4 separate regions of the Homo sapiens genome follow, and regions 1, 3 and 4 are each linked to region 2. Evidence: promoter capture Hi-C in human tissues and cell types (Jung and others, 2019). All regions are on one chromosome and are shown on one strand. Each heading gives the region's core, a stretch centred on a gene start or on the middle of the fragment in contact. The rest is flanking DNA. Distances are from core to core; before and after follow the strand shown. Region 1 overlaps CACNA2D4 (calcium voltage-gated channel auxiliary subunit alpha2delta 4). Region 2 holds the start of CACNA2D4 (calcium voltage-gated channel auxiliary subunit alpha2delta 4). Region 3 overlaps CACNA2D4 (calcium voltage-gated channel auxiliary subunit alpha2delta 4). Region 4 overlaps DCP1B (decapping mRNA 1B).

Region 1 (3,030 bases), core at 29-2,528, 63 kb before region 2:
CAGTTCTGTGAATTTTTTGTTGTTGTTGTTGTTGAGATGGAGTCTCATTCTGTTGCCCAGGCTGGAGTACAGTGGCATGATCTTGGCTCACTTCAACCTCCGCCTCCCAGGTTTAAGCAATTCTCCTGCCTCAGCCTCCCAAGTAGCTGGGACCACAGGTGCACACCACCACACCTGGCTAATTTTTGTAATTTTTGTAGAGACAAGGTTTCACTATGTTGGCCAGGCTGATCTAGAACTCCTGACCTCAAGTGATCTGCCCACCTTGGCCTCCTAAAGTGCTGGCATTATAGGCATGAGCCACTGCCCCTGGCCAGTTCTGTGAATTTGACCTTGCCAAGCTCCTCCTTACCTCAGAGCCCCTATACATGCTGTTTCCCTTGATCTGGATATTCTTTTTCCCAGTCTTTGCATGGAGGCTCTTTCTTTTTCTTCTCTCATTTAAAAAATTTATTTATCTTTATTGAGGTAAAATTCACATAAAATGAAACTGACCAATTTAAAGTATGCAATTCAGTCAGCGGCATTTAGTACATTCACAATGTTGTACAACCACCACCTCTATTTAGTTCCAAAATATTTTTATCACCCCCCAAAGGAGATCCTCCTCACCTTGGTGAGGAGGTGTCACAATAGAGCCACCCAAGTGGCTTAACAGGATCTCCTTTAAAGCAGGCCTATTTCTCTCCCCTACAGCATCCTGTTCATGGCGCTTATCACAATTTATAACAACCTATATCTATATATGTAGGCTTATTTGCTTATCACCTGGCTTCTCCACTAGAATGTAAGCTCCATGATAGCAAGGGCCTTGTCTGGGTTATCTCTGTAGCTCTAATACCTACCCCAGGGCCTGACACAGGGTGCAAGCTCAGTACAGATTTGTTGATGAAATGAATAAATAAGTAAGTAAGTGCCCTGTTGGGTTGGCATGGGAGGCAGTCTTCTTATGCGGGTGACAATTATGTGACAGGATGACCTGCTCTTTCTTCCAAAGAGGAAGAAGGAGGAGCAAGCTGAGGATGTGGCCTAATGAGCTCACCACTCGCATTAGTGCAGGTGAGAAGGCCATGTGACCATGGAGCAGAGACTGAAGTGTCACAGCTGCAAGACAAGGAGCACCTGGGGCTCCTAGACCTGGAAGAGGTGAGCAAGGTTAGCCTGAGGAACTGGTTTAGAAAACAGAGCCCACAGGCTTCGAGTCATCTGGCCAAATGCTCCCCTTGTGGAGATGAGGACTTCTGGTGAAGAGTGGCAGCCATTTGCCCAGAGGTCCACTTCTAGACAGTGGTAGGGAAAAAGATGACAGACTCTGAATGGTGCTTTCTCCTGACCCTTAACAGAGCTTGGTGGATAGAGGCTGAAAAAGATCCCAGTCCCTGACCTGGGGATCCATACATGTTACCACAGTTCCAAGGGTGCTTAAATACCAGCTCAGCCCTGTGGTAAGGCTGGCTATGCCTTTTTCTTTGGGAATCTCCCTGTTTGATCTAAGCCATCCATGTGCTAATGGGATAGGGCTGTGCAGCAGCCTCCCCCTGCCTTCCCACCTCTCCTGGCAAAGTCCTGAACTTCAGGGCCCCAGAGGAAAAGCTTGCCTCAGTGGGCGGCCAGCACTCACACTCCAGGTCTGGGTCCTTCCTGGTGAGGAAGCGGATCATGGCCTCTAGCTGGCTGAGCTTCCGGTGGTCTGGGTCAATATCTGTGATGCAGTAGATCCTGAAACCCAGGAAAGTCAGTGTTATCTCAAAACATTCCACCTGTCTCCCTCCCATTTTTTACTCCTCACTTACCAGTCACCGGCCAGGGCCAGGTCTGGGTGAAGCAAGTCATGCAGGCCTGAAACCAGAGTCCACATTCAGGGTGATGCTCCCTCACTGCCATGAGGGTGTGTGTCTCAATTGTAGAAACAGCCACCCAGTGAGTTTCTAAAGAAAGGGACTGGGGTCTGTTCTTTCTTGCTCTTAGCTCACAGTAGGAGAACATGGCTAAGTCTGCACAGGTCCCACCTCCTGAAATGCTTTCTTCTCATTGTTTCATGTCCAAATCCTACCCCTTCTTCAAGGTTCAGGGCAAATGCCATGCCTTCAATGAGCTGCCCAGCCAGTGGGAGCATCTTTTCCTCCTGCAGCCCTCATGCCCCTCCTCCCCATCCAGGTTGGATTTGGGTTATTATGGGCATGTAATAACCTTGTGCTTCTGCCAGACAGCAGCTCCCTGAGGAAGCTGCATCTTATTCCTCCTAGCATCTCCCTCAAAGGGAGGTGATACTTTGAAACCAGTGATTTTGGCTTCATTGGCTTCATCCCCAGGATGGGCCCTGTGTGTTTTGCGGCCTCTCACCTAACACAGAGCCAGCCTGATCTCATGCTCAGTACACGCTGTTGACTGAAAGAACGATGAGCTGATGCTCCATGGCACCTACTCAGAGCTAAGAAATGAACAGGTGCTCCACTGAGGGTAAGTCCAAGGAGGGGATGACAGAAAGGCCAGTGGGGCATCTGTGGAGCCTCACAAGGGCTGCTGCTCTGATGTAGACACAGGGCAAGCAGCTGGAAGGGGAGCTCCCTTGCCCACAGAAGACCAGGAGACTCCGGGATTCCAAGCCCCTGACCACTGGAATGTCTCACTCCCAGGAGTGGGTATAAGACAGCACCCTCTGTCTCCTGGAGGAGTGCACCCTGGGAATATCTGGGCAGAGGAAGAAATGTGTAGGAAGAAGGAAGAAGGCACGATGGAGGCCTAGGGATGATGGGGAACAGAGGAGAGTGCCCCAGTGCTAGGATCTGTGCTGTGGAAGGGCAGACACAGCTTCCAGGTGAGCACACAGCTAGTGCCTGACTCAGTCCAGGTGCGGGAGAGGGGATCTACCAGGGGCAGCTCCCAGACAGATGACAGCTAAGCTGGGGCCTGAGAGTGGGTCAAAGTGTGCTGGGAGAGGAGGGCACTCCAGGGCAGAGCAAAGCAGCCAGGAGGAGCAGGCCCATCAGCAGTGATGTGGGCAGACTTGGCATTTCTAGGAAGATCCCT
Region 2 (2,973 bases), core at 359-2,858:
TCTGAACATCTCCTGCAGCAACAGATAGCGTTACGGGCTGGCGGCGGGTGTAATGGTGAAAGTGCAGTCCAGGCTGACAGGAGTTCAAATCCCAGCACCTTCACTTCCTGGCCTTGTGAACTTGGGGAAGTCACCTGACCTCTCGGGGCCTCTGTTTCCTCAGCTGCAAAATAGGGATAAAAATAAGCCCCCACTGAATGGCTCTGCAAACTAACGGTGTCATTTGTGAAGCGCCCAGCTCCGTGCCAGGCAGGGAACAAGGAGAGCTATGCGGCTCGATGGGAAACGATGCTGCCTAATCCACTGGTCAGCAAAGGCTAAGCACAGGCACGGTGTGTCATTTAGGCTCCCTGTCCCCACTCCTGCTAAGACATGCAGTTGGCAGGTGGCTCTGTTGGTGGCCTGGCTATGGTGCTGGGCTCAAGCGGCTGGAGTAAACAGGATGGGGTCTGTAGCACCTACAGTCTAGAAGGCTCTGCTACCCACATGTATTGGAAATTTCCTTCCTAGGACCACCTGAGCTAGGGCCTAAAACACAGACACCCCAGAGAGGTTGCACAGTAATTTACATGTACACCAAGGTGCACATGACTGATACCGGGTTCTTTCCTGGAGCCGGTCTTAATGGCCGGCTAGAGAATCAAGGTTGGAAGGAGGCAGAAAGGTGTAGAAAGGGAAGACTGCGGCCACCAAAATCCATTTTTTTCCCCAGTTCCTGGACAAGCCACCTCCTGTGCGCATGAGACGTTCTGTGGGTTCAGAACTGCTTCCCCTTTTTGGAATGTCAAAATACGCATTTCCTGCCAAATGCTTCGGGGAGCTGCGATGCTGAGATAACCCGGCTCCTCCAGGCTGCCTCATCTCAGCGATTATCCTGAAGGAGCACCCGCCCTTCAGGTGTCCCAGAAGCTGCTTGTCAGGCCAGGAAGACAGCAGCCCTGATGATCAGTTCTTCCTAAAGCCATCCGGCTCCTGGGGAGAGGCAGGTGGGACTCCAGAACTCACAGAGCTTTTGGGAGGAGAAAGAGGAGGCCGGAGAAGCAAAGGGCTTTACAGCAAGAGAGTGGTCAGTCGCAGCCACTGGGGAAAAGCCCAGAGGGAGGGCAGGGGCGGGAGGAGTGGGCAGAGGATGGAGGCCCAGCCCGGGAAGAAAGTGGGAAAGGGTGACCGGGTTTTTGGGGTGGGGTTGAACGTGATGCTTACGTTTCCAGAGGAATCTTGGCCTGTCCCCACGCAGGGGACAGGGAGGTGCCTAGAAGCAGCAGCCACAGGAGGGCCGAGGTCTTCTGCACAAAGGCCCAGGCCACGGGCATTGGCTGGAGGGGAATCCAGCGGCTGCTGGAGCTGGGGTTTGCGAGGAAGTTGGGAGTTGCAGGCATGGTGGGCCTGGGGTTGGGGAGGGGAAGGAGGGCAGAGCAGCCACAGACCATGAGCTCTGTCTGCCTTCCTCCCAGACCCCAGGACGCCCCAGGCCTTTGTCTTCCGTGCCTTGGCGAGCCTGGGGTCTCCAGCCTCTCAGTCCTGGGTGGGGAGGGCTTCTCTCTGCCCCACAGCTGCAGCTCACAGAAGAGTCGCCCCACCTAGCAAGCAGGCCTCGGAGACAGGGACTGGGGGAGAGGCTGTGGCAACATGAAACCCTTTAATCCGCTGGCCTCTCCTCTAATCCTCTCCTGACAGCAGGGAGGGGGTGGCAGGGGGTGGGGAGCTGCCTCCCAAGATTACCACAACTGCAGCTGGTTCCCTCAGGGCTATAGTGCACCCCTCTGCTTTAAAGAGGCAGCCCCGTTCCTGTGGAACCACCTTCTGGACCCAGGAAGGGCTTGCTGTGACTATGGCCAGAGGACAGCAGCTGAGTTTGCACAGTACTCTGATTGACCCACAAATCTCTTGTTGACCCTGAGGTGGGGGTGTGTCCTCATCCCTGCTTGGCAGAGGCTCTTGAGGCCCGGGGAGTCCCAGGGGCAGAGCTGGGACTCTGGCTGGTGTTTCCAGGCCTGGTGCCTTTGGGACAGGTCATAGGTCATAGGTGAAGTCAGTGGACCCACGCCTCCACATCTCAGCTGCTCGTGGGCGGGGCTGGGGACGCATTTGCTGTGCAACTGATGAAGCTTCAGGACCCCTGAATCCACAGACTCCCCCCTTTCCCGGAGAGGCCCTAGCAATGTGTTCCTGTGGCCAAATGTTTTTGTAAAATATGCAAAAGTTGAGATAGTTTAACCATAACCGGTTGAGACTGTCTGTCTCTTTCCATCCCAACTTCTCTTCCGTCTGAGGGACTCTTAGTTGGATGATGTTTGGGTGGCTGAGGGCACTTGGGGGATCCAGTTAAGAGGAAAGTGAGCTGGGGAAACACTTAATCTGGGCTTAGTGGGATATGCTGACATGGTTCACAGTGACTTCTTTGTACAGAGAAGTTACCTCCAGCTGAGTGTAGGCAGGGCTTCCAGGAACACTCATCCCACAGGACATCCCACCAGCAGATGCAGCAAGAGAGGCTGGGCCGTGATGTGAGCGCACGCTGTCACACCCACCCTGGCCATGTGTGGTGGGGAGGGCAAAGTAACAGTCAGGAGCTCATCTGCAGAAAATCTACAAAAAGCCACACAGGTAACATCGTTGGTGGAGGATTTGGTTCTCACCAAGGCCTGGCCAGGACAGAAGTTCTCTCCTGTTAGGAAAATAGTGGATATTGAAAGAATATAATTACACCGTACATTGCTTTGTGTTCTGATGAGAGTTACACAAATTAGAATTGATCAAAATTCTTGTGTTGTGAGCCCAAACCAGTAGTAGTACCACATGGGTTCTCCGGGGGTGAAGTCATAGATTTTATGCAGTCCCCGTATCAGATTATTTTCTTAGTGTAACTGGTGCACTGTGTCTTCACAAAATCTGGTGGTTCCAGCAAAATGGTAAGCAAAATTGCCACCAACGCAGAGAAATGCTTGCAGAAGCAAGTGTTCTGATGACAAA
Region 3 (3,117 bases), core at 193-2,692, 37 kb before region 2:
TCCACTCACAGCACCAGAGCCAAACCCTTGCCACCTCTAGACGGCTGTCCGCCCTGACTGGCTGGGCTCGCCGTGCCGGCTCCTCCAGCCACTTGAAAGGGGCTCTGCATGTGTGCCCCACTTTATAACAAAAGTAGGCTTCTGACAAGCATGTGGGAAGAGAGGTATCGTAAGTCCGACCTTGGATGAGATCAACTAAAGGGGACTGCTGAGTCATGGAAGTCCACAGTTGACTTTCTTGGAGAAGGAAGCACATTTTGGCCACCACGTCTCTTTCTCTCATCTCATCTGAGTTTTCAATTTAGAGTTAGAAGTAAGGCTTTCTGAGAGTGAACCACGATGACATCTAATTGTTTTCTGAGCTTGGACACATCTCTATGGGCTGCATGAGGGCTTTCCAGTCTCCTTCCTGAGTTAGGAATGCATGAAGCCAGCTTGTCCCTGGCTCCCAGAGAGCAGCTCCCAGGCTCTTGGAGGCCCCTGTGGCCTGCTCTCCCTAGGACATGTCTCAGTCTGGGAGGAGTCCAGTCACAGCTGTCCCTGCACTCATGTTTCTGGATACCCTTGCAAGGGCGGACACCTGCCCTGGGCTCAGGGGAGTGACATCCTCCACTCAGAGGGTTCCGAAGTGGGTCCGGGAGACCTGCAGGTGACCCTTAACTTCAGGGACTCCTAAGTCAGGGACAGGAGAGGGAAGGAGGAAGACAGAGGAGATGTAGGGACTGGTTGCAGGGGGCGGTTCTCACTGAGGGACAGGTGTAAAAGTGAAGATCAAACTGTGAACTGTGGCCTCGTCTGTGTGCGTGGAGGTAAGAGAGCGTCAGAAGGTCAGGCTGTCCATAGAATGCTAAGGACATCCTAGCACCGTCTGACATCAGTTGCAGCACACAGGGAACCTGGGGTTGCCTCTACCCACCTTCTGCCAAACTCACACCCAACACTCCAGGCCACCTTCAGCAGGTATGGCCTATGCCCGGCTTCTCTCATCGGATTTCATGGTTCTGAAAGCCTTCGCTTTCCAGCTCCCGTGGCATGACCACAACACTCCCAGGTGAGGGAGGCCCACACGGAGCACCGGAGCCCTGGCCCCTCCTGCTGGGCTGGCTACTGGCAGGCAGATGAATGCACGGGTGATGGAGAGGAAGTGCAGGTGCCAGGGTTCACAGGAAGACAGCTCAAAGAAGATCCCCTCCTGTCCTCCTTCTCCCCACCCACCTCTCTCTCATCAAACCTGGACACTCAGGGCCCTATGAACACTTGGACAAGGGAGGGAGAGCCCTGCCCAAAGGCAGCCAGCTCGTCTCTTCTCAGCAGCAGTCGGTGATGGTCAGATGACATCTGCTGAGCATGGCCGTGTTGGCGGAGCCCCTTTAAAGTAGATTAATGAGCTTTTCATCCCAAATTTGGCCAGATGGCTTATGTCTACTATTAACAGGTGGAGGTAAGTAAGCATGCCACTGCTTTTGGACATAGAGCAACTCAGAAGAAAGCTGACCATTGCCTCGTTGCATTCCCAGCCTCCTTTGTCAGCACAGGGACTGAGTTCTGGCCAGTGAAAGGTGAATTCTGGGTTCTGGCAAGAGTCCCTGCAAGTTTCCCTCACAGGGGCGAAGTATCCCCCTTCCCCTTCCACAGCCTGATGCTTAAGTGTGGTTTCAGTTGACTCATGTTCCACCAGCCTCCTGAGCATGAGGATGAGGGCCACATGGCTGGGACAGCAAAGGGGACAGCAGGGAGGAGCCTGGGTCCCTGATGACCAGGCCAGAGAGCTCGTGGTCAGCTCTGGGCTTTGTTTACCCAAGGGGGACATTCACTTCTATCTTATTTAAGCCACTCTTTTCAGGTCTCTCTGGAGCCCAGCCTGATACATCATCACTGAAGCAGGTGGCTGCCTATGTGATGGGGATTTGAGAAATGGCAGAAAGGTCTCCCTTCCCCAGAAAGGTCCCATGTGAAGCTCTCCCTTTGATGTTCATTCTTTCGTGCAAGTCATTGCTGCCTACAGTCCTTTGAAAATGCAGGGACCCAGGAAGGGAGAACGTGTTCCAGCTGTGGGATGGTGGATTCTTGGTCTGACCCCTTTCTGTCCCGGGTGGGTGGGAGGGAGGGATGATGAGGGAGGCGAGGACTGTGGAGGAGGAGGAAGGAACAACTTCGGAGCAGGGACCCTGTCCGTGGAGAGCACCTCAGGCAGGTCTGCTGGGGGTCTAAGGCAGCATATGAGCAGTGGTCCCATTAGTGGGCCAAGGGCTGTCAGGAAAAGAGGAGGAAAAGCATGGAAAAGCGGCTTCATTCGCCCCTTCTTAATGTTCCCTAAGGAGGTGCTAGGCCCACCCCTTTCCTGACCCAGGAAGTAACTTCTTACTCCCTGGGGTCCCTAACTCTGAGGTGGGCTTCTCGAGCTGGGAGCTGCTGCCAGGCTCACCTTGCTGTCCATGTAGGCCTCTGTCCAGATGATGTCGTGGTCGTGGTTGATGACCATGGGGCGGCTGAGCACGTGCAGGTATTCCATCACGTTCTCCTGGGTGTCCGCCAGCGTTGAGATCTGCGTGTAGTAGCCTGCGGTGGGGAAGGCCGCGTGGGTGTGGAAGGCAGGGCTTCCCTGGGAACCCCTCGCCAGGGCCTGCACCCTCCCCAGCTGCAGATGGCTCATAGCCGAATACTCTCTGGAAACTGGACCGGGGCACAGGGAGCTGCTTCCCCACAGTTGTGTCCTTTACCCAGGGGCAGCCGCAGGCCAGTGGGAGGCCAAGGCTCACTCTGCTGCACCCTGGAAGATCTCTGAGGGGCTGTCCCACCCAGAGCTCCGGAAGGAGCAGCAGGGCCTGACGCAAGAGTGTTGGGGGTCAGCCTCTCCCTCTCCCAGCCTCGCCCTCCCACTTCCTCACAGGAACATCTCATGAGAGTGCCCTGTAAGCTTTCTTCTGCCACTCTTAGGTCTCTTCAGGGAACCCAATCAGAGGCAGAGATTTCTGCCTCTCCGCTCCTCCTTCCTCTGGTCCTTGTTCTTGCTCAGGTTGTGGGGTGGGTGTTACAGCCTATTCCCTGGAACCATGGTGACACTCCAAAGCGCAGATGGCGCAGAAGGCTGTGAATGGCCTCTCCACGCCCCCACCT
Region 4 (3,215 bases), core at 591-3,090, 45 kb after region 2:
GAATGTGTGTGCTTGTGCTGTTCTTTTATGTGATGGTCACTCAAGTGAGGCCAGAGAGGAGACACAGGAGAGTCTCAGGAAAACAAAGTTTATTATACTCACAGGTCCTGGAGACAAGAGGCATGCCACGCTGCACAGGGCCACGTGTGGAAGCCTCAGGGTGTCAGCAGCAAGGGGAAGGCGTAGGCTAGAGCATTTACTGAATTTCCTCAAGGAAGGCAAGGCAGGGCATGGTAAACAGGTTAAGATTGGCCAGTTTGAATAACTCCAGCAGGCTCTAAACTGTATGAGTGGTCCCCAGTTGCTGGGTACCTGGCCCTGGGATGATTAAGGCAGAGGAATATTGTACAGGCCAGAGACGAGGAGATACGTATGGCTCAGGATTGGTTAGTGTGCATATTAAAGGCGTGCTCCTGGCCAAGCCCTTTGCTATCTCTGAACACTGGCTGGTCACAGGAGGGGCAGTCTCCCCAGCCAGAAAGGATTTTAAGATGTCAAAACATTATAACATATAGAAGATAAAAAACAGAAACAATACAAGGTATGTGTGTGTTGAGAGGAGGGAGGGAAAGAAAGGAAAATAATTTTTTTCAATATTTGTATTTATTTACCATTGTTACACTGTCTTCACAGAACATTAAGTTCCTGGAGGGCAGAAATGTCACCTTTTGAAGATTAATCTTTAGTGTGCATAATATAGTATAATTAATAAAGTATAACTAATTATTCAACTAGTTGCCAAGTCATCATAATTTTTTTTAATGACTTTTGAAGAATTAAAAAAACACAAAATGAATACAGAATAGTTACTGTCTGAAGCTGAGATTAAGGCATCTCTGTCCAGGCCATACAATAGAAGGATAATTAAACTGTGGCTCATTCACATTCATATTCCTTCCTTCACTCAATAGCCATTATTTAACACTCACCATGTGCTAAGTACTTTGAAGACAATAAGGGATATAAAAGTGAATAAAGGATGTTCTTCGTACTCAAGAAGCTCACAGTCAAGGCAAAGCATGTTAAAGAAACTTGTCTAACTGCCTATATGTGCCACTTCATTCAGGATTTTTCTGATTGCTTCCTCATAGCATCATTTAATTTGTTTTTCTACCTTGTCTCCCCTCACTCCCCACCCACTTTCACTTTCTGTAAACTAAAAAGTTAGAGCTCAAGGCTTAATGAGATTCAGGATCAACTCTTTGGGCAAGAATATTTCAAGATGGTGCTGTACATTTGACATCTTATCACATTAGGAAGCCAGAGAATCTGGTTATCTAACTTTTAATGATGATAATCAGCGGGGTTCAGGAGGAGGCAGCCTGATCCTTCCACTGTCAAGTTTCTATCAACCTTTCCCATAACATTAATATTACTGATGATCACTGCCTGAGTCAATTATTTTAAGCAGAGTGTCTTTAAGTTCTATTATTCTCTCCACACGTACTAGCTGGAATTCTCTGGTAGAGAACAGCTCTCCCTCATTGACCAGGGCTGTTTGATTACTCTGAGATATAGTCCCTTTAGGGCAGGCAGGATAAAAGCTTATTTCATTCCCATTAATTATCAATTTTCAGAGGAAGGAGTTGGTGCCTTAGCACCTTCAAACGGATAACTAATAATTATTTTGCTTGGTTTTATATGTTTGGTTTGCTTGTTCTCTTTCTCATTACCAGGAACTCATAGATTTTTATACATTCAATGTGGTTTAATCCATTGTAGTCACTCCTGTTGATGTTAGAATGTGGTGCTCTGGTCAGTGTCCTTGAAGCTGATTTCTGTGTCCTTTCACATGACCCTATTGGTTTTACTATTCCAGACCTGGAATCAGAAATTTCTTTGAAGAGCCCTGACACCTTCTGGAAGGAAGTAATATTTCGAAACAACAATCTGGGTGATATAGATGCTTACTGCTACTGAGTTAGTCACTTTTATTTTTATGTCCTTTCAGGGCAAGAGTGAGAAACTCTATTTTTTGTTTTTATACCTAAGAAACAAAACATGAACTAATTCTGATATTTCCACTTAATCTTATGTAGTTTTAACTTATTAGATTTGATTTTTTTCCCCTTACACTAAGGTTTTGGTTCCAACCACGTTTATCTAATTTCATATTTATTATATCCACAACAGTAGAAAAATTACAATGCCAACAGTAGAAAAATTAAAATGCCAACATTACTACAAACAATAAAACCAATGAATGAAGTTTATAATGTCTTGCAGTTCTTTTTGTCCTTAAAATATAACCCACTAAGAGTGTTCAGTTCAAGCAGCGGGCTTTGAAGTCACTCTAATTTTTTTTCTAAGTAATTATGTGACAATATGATATTCAATTACATACATTTATTTCAGCTAGTTTCCAAATTCTATAATTTTTAAAAATTTTTATTTTTTGCCCATTTTTCTAGTGTTAATCTTGTACTTCTTAATTTTTAGGAGCTCTTCATAAAATAACCTTCCTGTCATTCTGGTGTCAACAATTTTTTTCTGAGTTGTTTTTGTATCTTTCTATTTGCTTGTGTTGTATTTAAACCTTGTAAAATGTTTTTTATTTTTATGTAGTTTAATTAATTGCTTTTGGGTTTTTAGGCATAATTGAAAGATTTCTCTTTTCCTAGATTATAAAGAAATCCATACAAATTTTCTTCTGGTACTTGAATCATTATATTTTTACATTTAAATTTCTAATACATTTGGAATTTATCCTGGTGTATGCTGTAAGGTACAGACTCAGTTTTGTATTTTTCCAAATGGCTACCAGTTGCCCCAACACCATTTATTTAGGAATTCACTCAAATAGCTGACTTGAGATTATCATCTTTATCATATCCTAGATTTCATATACAATTGGATTTAATCCTAGACTTAGAATCTTAAATCTGTCCCATTGGTCTATTGGGCTGTTAGGTATCAATACCATCAACACCATACTGTTTGAAATGTTGACTTCAATGTTTTAAAATCAGGGAGAGCTCGCTCCATCCCCCCACTCATCTCCCCCACCTCCAACCCCTACTAATATCACACTTCTTTGCCAGGATTTTCCCAGCTATTCTTTCTTGCATATTTCTTTCCATGAGCCTTACACTCAACTTGTCTAGATCAGAGAGTAAGGGAGAAGTGGGGAGGGGAGGGGAAAAGAAACCAGTGGTATTTATTTAGTGGTCACCTTAAATGTAGAGATTTTTTTTCTAAGAGCTTTATGTTGAATC

The links. Contacts are between HindIII fragments. The study calls those that stand out against the background at their distance.
Region 1: a contact is called between a fragment that was not itself captured here and the fragment with the promoter of CACNA2D4 in region 2, in 2 of the 25 tissues and cell types used here (dorsolateral prefrontal cortex and mesendoderm cells).
Region 3: a fragment that was not itself captured here is called in contact with the fragment with the promoter of CACNA2D4 in region 2 in 1 of the 25 tissues and cell types used here (spleen).
Region 4: a contact is called between a fragment that was not itself captured here and the fragment with the promoter of CACNA2D4 in region 2, in 2 of the 25 tissues and cell types used here (pancreas and spleen).

Annotation. Positions count from the first base shown.
Region 1 is chr12:1,854,391-1,857,420 of GRCh38, forward strand. It overlaps CACNA2D4 (calcium voltage-gated channel auxiliary subunit alpha2delta 4), which reads right to left. Exons shown (of 38, transcript NM_172364.5): 21 at 1,794-1,839; 22 at 1,622-1,719. Among named protein-coding and RNA genes, the nearest start is that of LRTM2, 35 kb to the left of the region's middle. The HindIII fragment of the contact is 7,695 bases long and covers 1-3,030 here.
Region 2 is chr12:1,917,044-1,920,016 of GRCh38, forward strand. CACNA2D4 (calcium voltage-gated channel auxiliary subunit alpha2delta 4) reads right to left here and starts at 1,609. Exons shown (of 38, transcript NM_172364.5): 1 at 1,204-1,609. The coding sequence starts at 1,430. RefSeq lists an enhancer at 1-258. The HindIII fragment of the contact is 9,283 bases long and covers 1-2,973 here.
Region 3 is chr12:1,880,442-1,883,558 of GRCh38, forward strand. It overlaps CACNA2D4 (calcium voltage-gated channel auxiliary subunit alpha2delta 4), which reads right to left. Exons shown (of 38, transcript NM_172364.5): 13 at 2,426-2,559. Among named protein-coding and RNA genes, the nearest start is that of CACNA2D4, 37 kb to the right of the region's middle. The HindIII fragment of the contact is 4,323 bases long and covers 1-3,117 here.
Region 4 is chr12:1,961,886-1,965,100 of GRCh38, forward strand. The region is part of intron 5 of DCP1B (decapping mRNA 1B); the gene reads right to left. Among named protein-coding and RNA genes, the nearest start is that of LINC00940, 27 kb to the left of the region's middle. The HindIII fragment of the contact is 6,426 bases long and covers 1-3,215 here.